Linked DNA regions of Homo sapiens: region 1 is linked to region 2. The links are contacts of gene promoters, found by promoter capture Hi-C in blood cells and fetal thymus (Javierre and others, 2016). All regions are on one chromosome and are shown on one strand. The core of a region is centred on a gene start or on the middle of the fragment in contact, and the rest is flanking DNA. Distances in the headings are between cores, read along the strand shown.

Region 1 (7,156 bases), core at 52-2,551, 110 kb before region 2:
GGAGGGGTGCCCGTGCAGCGGCAGACAGCGCTGACCAAAGGGCATCTATGACCCTGGAAACCTCATGGTGTGGCCTCCGCAGAGCCGCAAGCCTTGGCCCCCTGCTGAGACTGGAAAATGGAGCCTGGTTTCCCCCAACCCCTCTACCCCTGGCTTCCCATTGGTCCTCAGAGGCTGGGTCAGGGACCGTCCTCAGAGCAGGGTCCAGAACCGGCTTGATGTCCTGCTGACCAGCCCATCACCTCCCTTGCGCTGGGTGCCCTACCTCTTTTGATGTGCTCTGTGGTCAGCCCTGTGCCGGCAGCACCCTTGTCCCGCTCTGCAGCTGTTTCACATCTCTGCCCCCATCTGCGGCGACCAGCCTGGGTCGGAGGTTAGGGCCCCGCCCTGCTCGTGGGTGGCCCTGCCTGCTGCATCCCGGCGGCGTGGCTGCGGCTCTGCCTGCCCCGTGCCTGCTCTTTCTTCCCCCCTCCTCCTGTTCTGCGTGCTGTGCATATGGCTTTCTGTCTTCCTCCGTGTCACTAACCACAACGCTGCCGAGCCCGTGCCACGAGCGAGGCGACCTGCGGGACCTTTCTGGGGCCCTCGCCTGCACTCCGCGATCAGCGTCCTCCGCCGCAGCTCTCACCCTCGCATGCGTCTACATGCAGCCCCACTCGGTGCCTGCTTCCCGCAGGAGGGGACCAAGGAGCCCTGATACCTACAGGTCCACCGACAGCCCGGCTGCGCCTCCCGCCTTTGCTCGACGGCCCTCGGGAGCGCTGCGGCGCCTGGGCCAGCTGGGACTGCCCTGGCAGAGCTCTTGCCGTGCTCACGAGGCAGGCTTTTGGCACGTTCTGGGACACGCAACCAGTCCCTGGCAACGGCTCGAGGCTCTGCCATCCTCTTTCCTTCCCAGCTAGCCATGCCCAGATGTACCTCACATCCCTGAAGTCTCTGCCCACAGATGCTGCCCGAAGCGCTCCCATCCTCCACGCAACCAGAGGCTTCATACATTATTCAGACGTGGTGCCCACCTGGGCGGGAGCCACAGCCGGCACCCAGAGAGAAGGACCAAGCCAGCCTGGCATTCAACCACCTGCTCCACTCCCACAGCACCGGGATCTTCCTACCGTAGCACCCAGCAGCCAGGCCCTCTTCCTGACACCCCCACACCATGTCTGCCTGTGGAGCTCTGGGGTGCCCGGCCTGGCCACCGGCCCCTCCCCGAAGCTTTCATGGCTGACCAGCCCCTCCCAGACTCATCATCCCTGGGGGTGCAGGGAAGACATGGCAGAGCAGAAAAGAGTCTGCCCCTGGGCCGGCACTTCTTTCCCAGGAGACTCCCCGGTGTATGTCCCCGGGTGCTGCGGGCACCCCCTGCCAAGCCCCAGGATGGGAGTAAGCTTTGGTGCCTCCCTGAGCCTCAGCTTTCCTGTTTGCAAAATGGGGTATGAAGGACCAGCTTCAGTGGGCCGTGGGAGACTCACATGGCCTTGGGATGTCCTCATGGCTGAGGTCAAGTGGACCGGCCTTGGTCCTCTGCACCAGAGGTCCAGACATCCCCGTTTAAAGAGGCACAGTGAGCACCAGTGCAGCCAGCGCCTCCGTCCTCACAATGGTCGCCAGGGGCGCAGTCCTATCATCCCCATTACAGATGCACAAACGGAGGCTCGGAGGTGCACCTCTCACGTCTCACGCAGGGGTCCCAGGGAGCTGATGACGTGGCTGGGGCTCCAACCCCTCAACCCCCAAGAACCGGGTGTGGGGAAGACCAGGCAGGGACAGAGGCCAGAAGAGGTGCTGCTCCTGAATGTGAGTGGAGGGTCCTGACCCAGGGGGTCCCAGTCCGGGTGCAGAAATTCATTTCTCAGTCTCGGGGAAAACCAGCCCCCCCCACGCCCCCTCCTCTGTGGGGCGCCCCATTTTCCTCGCCCGCCCTCTCCTTGGCAAGCTCGCCAGCCCTCGCCTGGCCTCACTGCGTTCCTCCAGCATCCATTTCTCGCTTCTTTGATCTTCCTCCTACCGCCCGTCTTTGGAGCACCAAGAAGCTGTGTGAGACAGCGGCTCTGAGCCTTCTGCCCCGGCACCTGCTAGGTGCGGCCCACGTGGGAGAGACCCCTCCTCCCACACCTGGGGTCGGCGGCAAGGGGCAGTGCCCGGGACCCTCACACAGCTTCCATTCGCACCTCAGCCCCTCCCTCTGCCCTTCCCATCCTGCCACCACCCTGCACCCGCTTCTGCTCCCCCTCCCTCCTCCTTCAAGGCAGCCCCTGCTCTCCCTCCCTCTCAGCATTTTTCCCTCCCTTTCTCTCATTTCTTTCTCGTGCCTTCGCTTTCTTTCTTTCTTTTCTCTGTCACTTCTCCCCAGGTAGGGTTTGTTCTCGTCAAGAGACCCTCACAGCCCCAGGCACAGGGTTGCCCCCCTCCCAGCATCCCTGGCCAGGCCCGGCCCTCAATCTCACCTCCGCAAGCACCACCTCAGCTCGCACCAATACCTCCCCAACCCGTCATGGGTAGCAGCCGACCCTCAAGCCTCCCGGGTCTCAGCCCACTTGGAGCCTGGGGCAGGGGCCAAGCCCCTCACCCTTCTCCCTAATGGTCCCCGCCCCATCCAGGGGTCACCCAAGGGCTTCTCTCCCACAAGCTCCCACTTGCAGTGGCTCCTGTCTGCCCTCCAGAGACCTCTGTGGTTAACCCCAGTCCACCGACCTCTGCCAAGCCGCTCTGAGCCGGATGCTCAGTCCCCGGGGCCATGCTCCCTCTGGCCTCAGGGTGCCTCCCCTTTACGGTTCCAGCAGGGGCATCTGGGGGTCGAGTGCCCAGGGCACCCTGGCTGCCGCTTGCTGGCCGCTCTGCCCAGCTCTGGTTCGCCGGCTGGGACTGAAGCCTGAACCGCCGTCCTCTGGGCTCTGGCCCTGACACCCTGCCCAGGGGGCTGGGCCACTCGGTCCCTGCACCCCTGCTGCTGGCTCGCCTGGGCTTCTGGGCAGGACGGGCTCTGTCCGAAGACCGACTTCCAGCCCTGCCAGGGCGGGGGCTACCCCACCCTCAGGATCTCAGGCCTGGATGGGCCCAAGGCAGCCACACCCTTTTGGACACTGTGGTTGGAGGCCTGGCTTCCCCCAGCCCCCTCAGGGCCAGCCCAGCAGGCTGCCAGCCCATTCCTGCCCCACTGGCCACATCAGGAGCCCCAGAGGTCCCTGGACCAGGCTGCTCAGGGTGGGTCCCTGCCTGAGGGGCCTTAGAGCCCTGCGGAGAGCCAAGCACGGTGTGGCTGCCACATCTGTATATGTGTGGGCAGATGTGTGCCCGAGATGGAGGGAATGGAGGGGCTCACACCGCCCAAAGAGCCATGGCTAAGGGTGGGCACGGGGCTCCGGGGACCTCAATGCTTGATAAGAACGTCTGCCAGGCTGATCCCCAGCCCCCCTCTTCACTCCGGGCCAGGCTACAAGGCACTCTCAGCCGGCCTGGTGCCCTCTCACAAAGCCAGGACCCCACAGGTAGCAGGGCCAGGCCGCTGGCTGAGTCCGGGTGACGTCTGGAGTTGAGTGGGCTGAAGTCCTCTTGAGGTCCCCTGACCATCCCTAACACTTGCCTTGCCCGAGCTGGCCCTGGGAGAGCCCCGAGTTGCCCAGGGGCAGGCAGGAGGCACAGGGCAGACTCCCAGGTGCCTGGAAGGGCAGACTTGGCAGGGAGGCATTGGGGGTAGGTCAGCCCAGGGCCTGACCCTGCCAGCCAGAAGCCGCATTCTGGCAGGGGCTGGGTACAGCCAGACCTGGAGAAAATGGTGTTATGGGACTACATGCAGAGCCCCTGGGCTTGCACTGGGTGTAGACAAGGAGAATCGCTGGGGCAGGGGTGGGGGGCGACGGGGCAGGGGGGACACGTTTTCCCACTGGCCCAGAGCACCATTTTTAATGGATGTAAACTGCATTGAATTTATTCCCTGGCAGCTGCGGGCACCTAGCATGGCCCTTCAGGGTTCATCACTGAGGACACAGCACTTTGCCTGCAATGCCTCTCCCAGCCCTGCACCTGACATGGCAGGACACCCAAGGGGTCCCCGGGAAAGGGGTGGGGTGATGCGGGTGGAGGAGGGACCCAGGGACCCGGGCTCATCATGCCCGGCTGAGTGGCCTTGAAGTCTCTTCACCCACAGCTTCTCTGAGCCTGGCTCACTCCTTTATCCAACAGGGAGTGGGTAGGGGGCAGTCTGCCTGGCCTGCAGGGCTGGGACTGGGGAAGTCCGAGCTGTTGGAGGCTGCAGAGAAGAGATCATGGCAGTGGTGGTGAGCGCAGTACTGTCCCGGGTGGTCGTGTGTGTGTGCATGTGTGTGTGTGGGTGTGGTGGGTGGGTGGGGTGCAGCGGCCTCTGGGTCTGTGTCCTGGAGGGGGTGTGTATTAGTGCACACGTGTCAGCCTTGCTTCATGTAGCTCACCTTGGTGGCTCCCCTTAGCTGGACAAGGGACTCTTGCTGCCCTCTGCCCAGCCCCCATCAGGACAAGTTCCAAGGGAGTTCAAAGGGACGGGTCCTTATGCCACCAACCCACTGGCTGACCACCGCAAGTGAGGTCCCCTCCTCACTGTCTCCTCCCCAGGTCCACAGGGACTGGCCCCGAGCCTGAGCCCACGCGGCTTCAGTGCCTCCTCCCCAGGTCCACAGGGACTGGCCCTGAGCCTGGGCCCACGCGGCTTCAGTGTCTCCTCCCCAGGTCCACAGGGACTGGCCCCGAGCCTGGGCCCACACGGTTTCAGTGCCTCCTGAGTGCGGCTTGCTCACCTGGGGCTGCAGTTGGTGCTGGGCCCGCTGGACGGATGCTCATGGCCGAGCCCCTGGTGACAAGGGGGTGAGCCACCGCACAGCCAGGCAGGGGCTCTGCCCCTCCTCCGGGGGCTGCACTTCCTTCTCTTGGGCCCATTTGTTAAGTAGCACTGGTGAGCCTGGGGGATTGACCCCAGGCACTCCTCAAATCCCAGGCCACAGAGCTCCTGGTGGACAGCAGCGTCCCCTGGGAAAACACATTCCCGTTGGGCAGGGAGGGAGGTCTGACCAGCAGAGCCTGGAAGCCCAGGAGGAGGAGGCTTATGGGGGGCCAGGGGTAGGGGGAGGCTGGGATGAGGTGTGCCCAGCCAGGGGCCCACTGCAGATCCTGGTGCTGGTCCTGAACTCAGGTGACAGCCGGAGACCCTGCCAGGTGGGGACCAGATCGGAGCCATCTCTCTGCATCTGCACGGACCCAACAAGTGGGAGCTGGGGAGGAGGGGTGAGCCGGGCTGCCCTCAACTCCTCAGACCCCACTTAGCTCACCCCCATGGGCATCCCTGGCTCTCTGGCCTCTCAGAGTCTCAGCACTGAGTGCCTGGCCTGGGTGGGCAGTGGCAAGCCGACCGATGCCAGCCCTGCCTTCCAGTAGCTCGAGGTCCGGCCAGCATGCTCCATGCCATCAAAGGAAGTCAGAGCAGGACAGCCCTCCAGGTTAGGAAGAAGCAAGGCAGCCTTCAAGCAGGAGGTGGTGTTTCAGTTTGGCTTAAAAGCCTGGAAGGGTTGAGGAGGAGAAAGGGCACTACAGGCGGCTCAGAGTGGCTGACGGTGCAGAGGGATATCTCTGAGACTGCCCAGGCTGGGTCTTGAGGAGCCTTGGGCCCTCCAAACTCTGCTCTCCCACCTGACCCCATGAAGGGCCACACCACTACTTTACAGAGGAAGAAACAGGCTGGGAGAGGGCACCACACTGGCCCAACACCTGCAGGTGGACAAGGCCCGGGCACCTTCCCTGGCCCTGAGGAGCCTCCCACTCAGGGTTGGTGGCTGCAGCCAGGGCCGGTAAGCTCAGCCCAAAGTTCAGTTTCATGATCTGTGAAGTGAGGGTGACTGAAGGGTGCCCAGGATCCGAAGGACCCCACGGGAGGCCCCAGAAGCCACCCAGAGGATGGGCCCTTCATTTTGGGGGCTCAGAGTCAAGCAGAATCCCTGGGGCTCGGGGAGAGGTGTGAGCAGGTGACAGTGCAGCCGGCGGTGCAGGTGGGACGGCGTGAGCGGGTGACAGTGCAGTCGGTGGTGCAGGTGGGATGGTGTGAATGGGTGACAGTGCAGCCGGCGGTGCAGGTGGGACGGTGTGAGCGGGTGACAGTGCAGCCGGCGGTGCGGGTGGGACGGTGTGAGCAGGCGACAGCGCAGCCGGCAGTGCAGGTGGGATGGGGAAGGAGAATGCATGGGCAGCTGCCAGGAGCCAGGAGGAAGAGAGGCCTCAAGCAGCCTCCGCACTCACACATGTACACGCAACCAGCCTGGCACCCTCTCGCTGCCCACGCTTGGGGCAGCAGAGCCTACCGAAGCTGGGGGGAGGCCCAGTGGCCCGGTGCATGTGGCAGCCCAGCATGGGCACCCTGCCCTGCCCTCCATGCCCAGCCAGGGCAGGAGGGACCTACCTCAAGAGGTATCCAGGCCCTGTCTGCTAGAGTTCCTCCTCAGAAGCCCGGGACTGCCCAGGCTGCAGCCTCTGCTCAGGCGGCGACCTGGCCTGACCCCAGCCCCGGGGATAGAGCAGCATCTCAAAGGCTCCTGTCCTGCTGGCCCTCCTCTCTGCTGCCCTCCTCCCGCACCCCTGCCCCCCTGTGCCCAGCTCTCCTTGGCTTTCCTGCCTCTCCTGGCCCCTCTCACTCCTGCACTTCCTTGGCGCTCTGCCCTGGCCCTCGGTCTCTCGCTGGCTGTCACCCCTCCCCTGTCCCTTCTCTCTGTCTGGTGTTCTCCTTGTCCCTGTGACCCTCTGCCTGCCTGTCTTGGCCCCTCTGGCCCCTGGCACAGGAGTCTGTGGGCCGGCTCCCTTGGGCAGCCTGGTCCCTCCCTCTGGCACCTGGCACAGGGGTCTGTGGGCAGCCTGGTCCCTCCCTTCGGCTCCTGGCACGAGGGTCTGCAGGCCGGCTCCCTGCAGGCAGCCTGGTCCCTGTGTCCCCATCCCTGTGGGTCTCCCTGACTGTGGGTCTCCCTTTCCCCTCTCCTACTTCAGGACTCTCAGCAGCTGCTTCTCTTTTGTTTCCCCCAGCCCCCTTCTCCTCCCGCCTCCATCTCTTCCACCTCCACCTCCTCCTCCTTCCGAGAAGAGTAAAAATGTCAGAGCGAAAACTCTCCCAGCCCAGCAGCGTGGGGCTCAGCCAGACCTCTGTGGCGCG
Region 2 (7,505 bases), core at 5,006-7,505:
ATGTCCGTCTCAGCCCCGACCTCTCCCTGGACTCACAACTCAAATCACTGCTGCCATGCAGCAGAATCACCTGGTTGCCCCACATGCTTTGTCTCAATCTGAAGCATCCAAAACTGAGCTCCTGGCCTTCCTCCCCAAGACTCTTACTCCTGCATCTGTTCCCATCTCAGCCAATAAAAGGCCATCCTTCTAGGGTTTTGGGTAGGCCGTGGAATGTCAGTATTGGCCCCTCCATCACACACCGTCAGTCCAATCTGTAACCGCCCAAGGGGTTCACCTTGCCTGCTGCCTGGACAGAGCCCATTCATCAAGACAGGGGAATTGCAATAGATTAATTCACGCAGAGCCAGCTGTGCAGGAGAGTGGAGTTTTATTATTACTCAAATCAGTCTCCCCAAGCATTCATGGAGCAGAGTTGTTGTTGTTTTTATTTATTTATTTATTTATTTATTTATTTATTTATTTCTATTATACTTTAAGTTCTAGGGTACAGGTGCACAACGTGCAGGTTTGTTACATATGTATACATGTGCCACATTGGTGTGCTGCGGAGCAGAGTTCTTAAGGACAACTTGGCGGTACGGGGAAGCCAGTGAGGCAGGAGTGCTGATTGGCCAGGGATGAAATCACAGAGGGTTGGAGCTGTCTTCTTGCGGTGAGTCAGTTCCTGGATGGGGGCCACAAGATCAGATGAGCCAGTTTATTGATCTGGGTGGTGCCAGCTGATCCGTCAAGTGCAAGGTCTGCAAAATATCTTAGGCGCTGATCTTAGGAGCAGTTGAGAGAGGGTCAGAATCTTGTAGCCTCCAGCTGCATGACTCCTAAACCATAATTTCTAACCCTGTGGCTAATGTTAGTCCTACAAAGGCCATCTAGTCCCCAGGCAAGAAGGAGTTCTGCTTGGGGAAAGGGCTGTTAACATCTTTGTTTAAACTATAAACTAAATTCCTCTCAAAGACAGTTCAGCCGACACCCAGGAATGAACAAGGATGGCTTGAGATTAGAAGCAAGATGGAGTTGATTCAGTTAGAGCTCTTCCGCTATCTCAGCCATAATTTTGCAAAGGTGGTTTCGAATAATCCACCTGGAAATTCTCTGGCCCTACCTCAAAAGTGCATCCAGAGTCTCACCCCTTCTCACTGCCTCTCTCTGACCTCGGACTGCTTCCTTTCCTCCCCACCTCCAGGCCGGCTCCCTTTGCCTCATGGCCTCTGCTCTCCTGTTCTCATGTCAGCGGCTCCTGACCAGGCCTTTGGTTTATTACCTCCTTCAAGTCTGATTAGAGCGCCTGGCGGGGTGGCTGACGCCTGTAATCCCAGCACTTTGGGAGGCCAAGGTGGGCGGATCACCTGAGGTCAGGAGTTCAAGATCAGCCTGGCCAACATGGCAAAACCCCATCTCTACTTAAAATACAAAAATTAGCCAGGCGTGGTGGTGGGCAACTGTAATCCCAGCTACTCCGGATGCTGAGGCTGGAAAACCGATTGAACCTGGGAGGGAGAGGTTGCAGTGAGTGGAGATCACGCCACTGCACTCCAGCCAGGGCAACAGAATGAAATTCCACCTCAAAAAAAAAAGGTCGATTAGAAGAGGCTTCTCTTCCCGCAGGGCCCTCCCCTGCCCCTCTCTGTGCCCTGCAGCAGCCTCCTCTTTGGTACGTTCCACTCCCCAAGCCCTGCGTGGGCGTCCCACCCACCCCCCAGCTTCATTTTAATCTCTGCCCCTCCACACACCTCCCCACCCCCACCCCTGTCTATATATGAACGGCACTGGGTGGGAATTTCCCTATTGTTTTCTCGATTTCCTAGAGCAGCGTCTACTCGTGGTAGGTGCCCGACACTCACATGTTGAGTGAATGAGCAGATTCTCAAGGCTCCCAAGGGACTGACCCATCCAGGCAGACCCTTTCCAGTCTGGGATTCAGCACTCCCCATGGAGAGGCAGGGTTGGGCTGACAGCCTCCAGCCCTTGCTTGCCCCTGTTAGGTGTCAGCATGCAGCGGGCACCCAGCAGGTCCGACTCCCTTCTCTGCCCCTTTCCTCTCGGGCACTTTGCCATCCTCTGATTCCCTGACTCTCCACACAGCCAGGAGGGAGCCGGAGAAGCCACGACCCCCGTCCTGTGGCTGGCTTCCCAGAGAGAAGCTTGGGGCCCCTCCGTGGTGGGAAGCTCAGTGGGCTGCGATGGCAAAGGCTGAGATGGAGCCTGGGCCTGGCCCCCACCTCCTGCCTCCTCTCCCCAGGTGGGCCGAGCACCCCACAGATGGAGCCCATGTCCCTGCATGCGGTCAGCCGAAGGGTGTGAAAGGTGAAAAAGGGCCCTGTCCCCTGCACTCTGCCAGAGGCGGGGCCTGGACACGCTGCAGCACCCACTGGCCCAGGAGCCCTGAAGGCAGCCCTGGTGGGAAGAGGGTCTCCTGAATCGGCCTGGCAGGTGCAGGAGTCTGGGGAATCTGAGCCAGACAAGGAGGCCAGGGGTCGCTTCTGTACCCTCAGCTCCTAGCAGGGGCAGGCAAGGGCTCCAGAGACCGTTAGCCCAACCTCAACTCTCCAGGGACAGAGGTGAGGCCCAGATTGAGAGGGTCTGCCCGGGTGAGCCAGAGGCAAGGGGATTAGAAGCCACTCCCTTGACCTTCACCCAATATGCCAGCAGGGTCCCACCCTGCCTGGTGGGTCAGTCCCTCGGGGACCCTGAACACCCAGGCATTCATCCCACACATAATTACTGGGCACCTACCACGTGCCGGGCTCTGCTCCAGGAGCTGGGAAGCTGAGCGGGCCCAGGCAGAATGCCCCCTCTGTAATAAACAGAATAACAGATGGTATCTGCGGTGGGGTGGGGCCTCTTCACCCTTGGGGCCCCGAGAGGGTCCTTGCTCAACAGTGCCCCGTTGTCTCAGGGGATGGTCCAAGGCTCTTAGCCTGGCTAGCACCGGCCCACACACCCCACAGCTCGCTGCCACGTTGTGCTTCTGGCCCCACTGGCCATCCGCACTACCCACTGGCTCGCAGCCTCACCGGCTCACCGGGACCTCTGGGTGGAGTGTCGGCCACGCTCTGTGGGCATGCGTCCTCACAGGTGCGTATCTCAGTATCCTGGACACCAAATGCTTCGTCCACCACTGGACCTGGGGACCGAGCAGGGTGGCTCAGGGGACACTAGCTGGGACCATCTTTCACCCCTTGCTGGAGTCCAGTCCCCCAGGGTCGGCTGACATCTCCAAGATCCCAGCCCACTGGAAAGCACGTGATAACCCCAGGTGCCAGGTCCAGGCTGGCCGTGGGCCCCCAACAGCTGGGCGGATTCTGAGGGCAAGGTGTGGACCCCCAGCAGCTGGGCAGATTCTGAGGGCAAGGGTGTCTGTCTGCTCGGGCTTCTGTGTTCAGGCTTAGAACCCCCTCAGATGAAGGGCTCTAAATGGGCGGGAAGGTGGGGCTGAGGGGGCAGCCACTCATTTGTGGCCATCAGGCAGATCCAGCTTCGGGGAGGTTCCGCAAGGGCCAAGGTCCTGATATATTTGGTTACAGAAAAGGTGGGAATTCCAATCCCGCCCGCCGAGAACCACAGAACCTCACTGCCTCTGTAAAGCGGGGTTGGGCCCATCTACCTCGCAGGGAGCTGGGAGGAGAAAACGCACCCTGGGTGAGAGCATGGGGAAGCATCCTTCATTTGGGTCCAAGCTCAGATGCCACCTTCTTGGAGGGACCTTCCTGCGGAGGTCGCTGTTGAGCACATCCCCTGGCTCCATTTCCTGTGTGACTTGGACCTGCCTTAAATGATTTGTCCCAATATCCCTTTCCTACTTACAGCGACCGCACCTCCCGCCTGGCTGTGTGCTCCAGAGCATCTGGGGAATGACCGGGCCCTCCCCTCCAACAGGCCTAATTCAGTCCCCCATGCCAGGCAGGACCAGGGCACACGAGAATGGTGAAGTCCTGGGGCAACTGTCACCATGGCCTCTGCAGGCTCAGTGTCGGGAGACCCAGTTTCTGACCTGGATACACTGCTCACCTTTGAGGTCGGGGCCTAGAGGGACGGTGCCACGTTGGAGACAGGCCTCCAGGGACAGTGCCACGTTGAAGACGGGGTTCCAGGGACGGTGCCACGTTAGAGATGGGGTTCCAGGGACAGTGCCACGTTGAAGACGGGGTTCCAGGGACGGTGCCACGTTGGAGATGGGGTTCCAGGGATGGTGCCACATTGGAGATGGGCAAGTCTGGGCTAAGGGAGGAGGGCCCAGGGTGGCCAGGGCAGGGCCCAGTGAGGTGCTGCTCTGAGGAGGTGGAGAGTGGGCGCTTGGGCAGGGGACACTTGGAGAGTAAGGATGAGGTCCATCTGGGTACCCTGGGTATAGGGAGTGTTGTTGAAAAAAAGCCAAACACTATAAAATATTTGAAGATATTTATTCTGAGCAAATGTGAGGACTATGACCTGTGAAACCACCTCAGCAGGTCCTGAGAATATGTGAGCAAGGTGGCTGGGTAACAGCTTGGCTTTATACTTTTTTTTAAAATTTTCAGGTCTTTTCTGTAGAGACAGGGTCTCACCATGTTGCCCAGGCTGATCTCAAGCTCTTCAGCTCAAGCAATGCTCCCACCTTGGCCTCCGAGTATGCTGGGATTATAGGCAACAGTCACCATGCCCGGCCTGGTTTTACGGATTTTACAGAGACAGATGTTACAGGCCAAAACCATAAATCAACATATGTAAGATATACATTGGTTCAGCCTAGAAACAGGGTTGGCAGGGGCAGCTTCCAGGTCATAGGGGATTCAAAGATTTCCTGATTGGCAAGTGGTTGAAAGAGTTATGTTTTGCCTAAAGAGTTAAAGTGGGATTACTCACGCCTGTAATCCCAGCACTTTGGAAGGCTGAGGCAGGCAGATCACCTGAGGTCAGGAGTTCGAGACCAGCCTGGCCAACATGGTGAAACACCATCTCTACTAAAAATACAAAACATATATACACATATACATGTATATATATATACACATATACATGTATATATATACACATATACATGTATATATATACACATATACATGTATATATATACACATATACATGTATATATATACACATATACATGTATATATATACACATATATACACATATACATGTATATATACACATATATACACATATACATATATGTATATACATATATAGTGTATATATATACGTATATATATGTGTATATATACACTATATATGTGTGTGTGTGTATATATATATATACATACGTGTGTGTATATATACATATTAGCCAGGCGTGGTAGCACGCGCCTGTAATCCCAGCTACTTAGGAGGCTGAGGCAGGAGAATCGCTTGAACCCAGGAGGTAGAGGTTGCAGTGAGCCGAGATCATGCCACTGCACTCCAGCCTGGGCCACAGAGCGAGATTCTGTCTCAAAAAAAAAAAAAAAAAAAAAAGAGTTGACGTGAGTGGACAAAAGGTGCCCGACCTCCTAAGGGAAGGAGCTTCTCTAGAAAACGCGAATTTCGCCCCCTCAAGAGACAGCTGTGCAGTGCCATATCAAAACATGTGAAAGGAATGTATTTTAGGGTGGAATACTTTGCCTGCCTTCGGGCCTGCTGTCTGCCACGTGAGGCTGTGCCAGTGTGAGGCTGGAATTTGGGATCTGGAGGCTAGAGCCATCGGTGAGGCCTGAGTCTCTAAGCACAGCGCCCAGAGGGAGAGGGCGGAGCGGGTCCGACCCCCTTTGCGGCAGGGCCTGAGCTGGTTTTCCAGGTTTCTCTGGAAGCCCTGTAGAGGAGCGGAGGGTCCATTCGGTGGGCTGGGGACTTTGAATTTAACCTTGGTTTGCAAGAGGCTTCCAGAGAGGATGTCTGGGAGCGTCTCGGAGGGGGACGAGGGGGCGCCGGGAGGAGCAGGTGCAGGAGCCCACGGCGCAGCGCCCCGCGCAGGCCTGGACGCGGGGACGGCCGCGGCGGCCGGGACAGGGGTCACCCCGCGGGGCCCTCCAGGGTGGGCCGCCCCACGACCCCAGGCCAGGCCGAAACGGGAATCCTCCAGACCCCAGAAGCTGGGCCGGGCTGACCCCGCGGGCGCGAGCGGCGGGAACTGTAGGCGCGGCAGGCGCACCACCACCCCGCCCCCCGCCCGGGCGCTGTGCGCGTGCGCCGAGGTTGCCCCGCCCAGGCCAGGCCCCGCTCCGCCCCGCCCCGCGCACGCCGGCCGCGCCCACGTGACCGGTCCGGGTGCAAACACGCGGGTCAGCTGATCCGGCCCAACTGCGGCGTCATCCCGGCTATAAGCGCACGGCCTCGGCGACCCTCTCCGACCCGGCCGCCGCCGCCATGCAGCCCTCCAGCCTTCTGCCGCTCGCCCTCTGCCTGCTGGCTGCACCCGCCTCCGCGCTCGTCAGGTGAAGCCTCAGGGGCCGGGGCTCAGGGACGGGCAGGGGTCGCGGCGCCGAGGTCCCGGGGCCTGTGGTGACTTTCGCGCTCCCCTGTGGCCCCCACGAGCCCCTTGCGCCCCCCGCGCTGGAATGCACCTGTGCCGCCCTGCGCGGCCTCCTGCACGGACCACCCGCCTACGGGGCGCCGGGCTCCGGAGGTGCAGGGGACCCGGGGCAGAGGCGCCAGATGCCTCTCCCCCATATGCCACCCTGGGTTGTACCTTGAGGACTGCAGACTGACCGCAGCCTCCCTGGAGACGGGGCGGGGCGGGGGGAGGTAGTGCTCATTCGGGGCAGGTGGAATTGGGGTCTGTACTGAGCGCCCTTGTTGCTGGAGACCTAGGTCAGGCCTCAGAGCCCCCGAGTCTGGGCGAGTCCATTTCCTTAGGGACCCCTTTACCACCTGTGAACTGGGGGCTTTAAAAGTTTGCTCCAGCGGCTCTTATCACAGGCCCTGGGCTGGGAGACCCCTCGAGACCCTAGGAGTTCCCATGTCCCTGAGAGAGGAGGAGGCATGGGGAGTGGGTCGGCTCACCCACCCCGGGCCTGGGGTTGTGCTGTAGTGAGGCCCACACGCTCCTCAGGCCGATCCCCTGTGCCAGGTGAGGCCACCGATTGGGCCTGGATGGGATGGGGCCCGGCCATGCCTGACCAGCTGGGCAGAGGAGGGCCATGCTGCAGTCTGCTTTCTTGACCCCCTCCCCAGCCCTTGCAAGGCAGCCCGCATTCCCAGGAGGGGTATGCTGACCCATCCCATTGGGCACCTGCCCCACCCTTGCTCTGGGCCTTTGTGGGAGACCTGGGATCTGCGATGGGTCCACTGCCTTTTGGCAGGTGGGTGAGGTCAGAAGGCTGCAGGGGCTGGAGCTGGCTGGGCCAGCTGGGTAGGACTGAGCCTCACCAAAGGCTGTGGGGAATGGCCCGGGGGCGGGTAGCCCCAATTAAAGTCGTTGTGGGGGAGTAGCCACAAGCCTGAGCCTGCCTTGACCTTGCCAGCCTATCCACAGGCCTCCCCTCTCCAAGGAGGACAGACACAGCAGAGGGGAAACGATCCTGGGGCTTCTTGGAGGGAAGGGTAGCTG

The links. Contacts are between HindIII fragments. The CHiCAGO score rates a contact against its expected background, and 5 or more counts as called.
Region 1: a contact is called between a fragment that was not itself captured here and the fragment with the promoter of CTSD in region 2, in 1 of 17 cell types (monocytes). The highest score is 7.8, in monocytes.

What each region holds. Positions count from the first base shown.
Region 1 is chr11:1,864,522-1,871,677 of GRCh38, reverse strand. The region is part of intron 1 of LSP1 (lymphocyte specific protein 1); the gene reads right to left. Among named protein-coding and RNA genes, the nearest start is that of MIR4298, 8.6 kb to the right of the region's middle. RefSeq lists enhancers at 1-538, 539-1,077. The HindIII fragment of the contact is 173 bases long and covers 1,215-1,387 here.
Region 2 is chr11:1,762,677-1,770,181 of GRCh38, reverse strand. CTSD (cathepsin D) reads left to right here and starts at 6,255. Exons shown (of 9, transcript NM_001909.5): 1 at 6,255-6,390. The coding sequence starts at 6,323. RefSeq lists silencers at 5,876-6,345, 6,596-6,685. The HindIII fragment of the contact is 14,818 bases long and covers 2,147-7,505 here.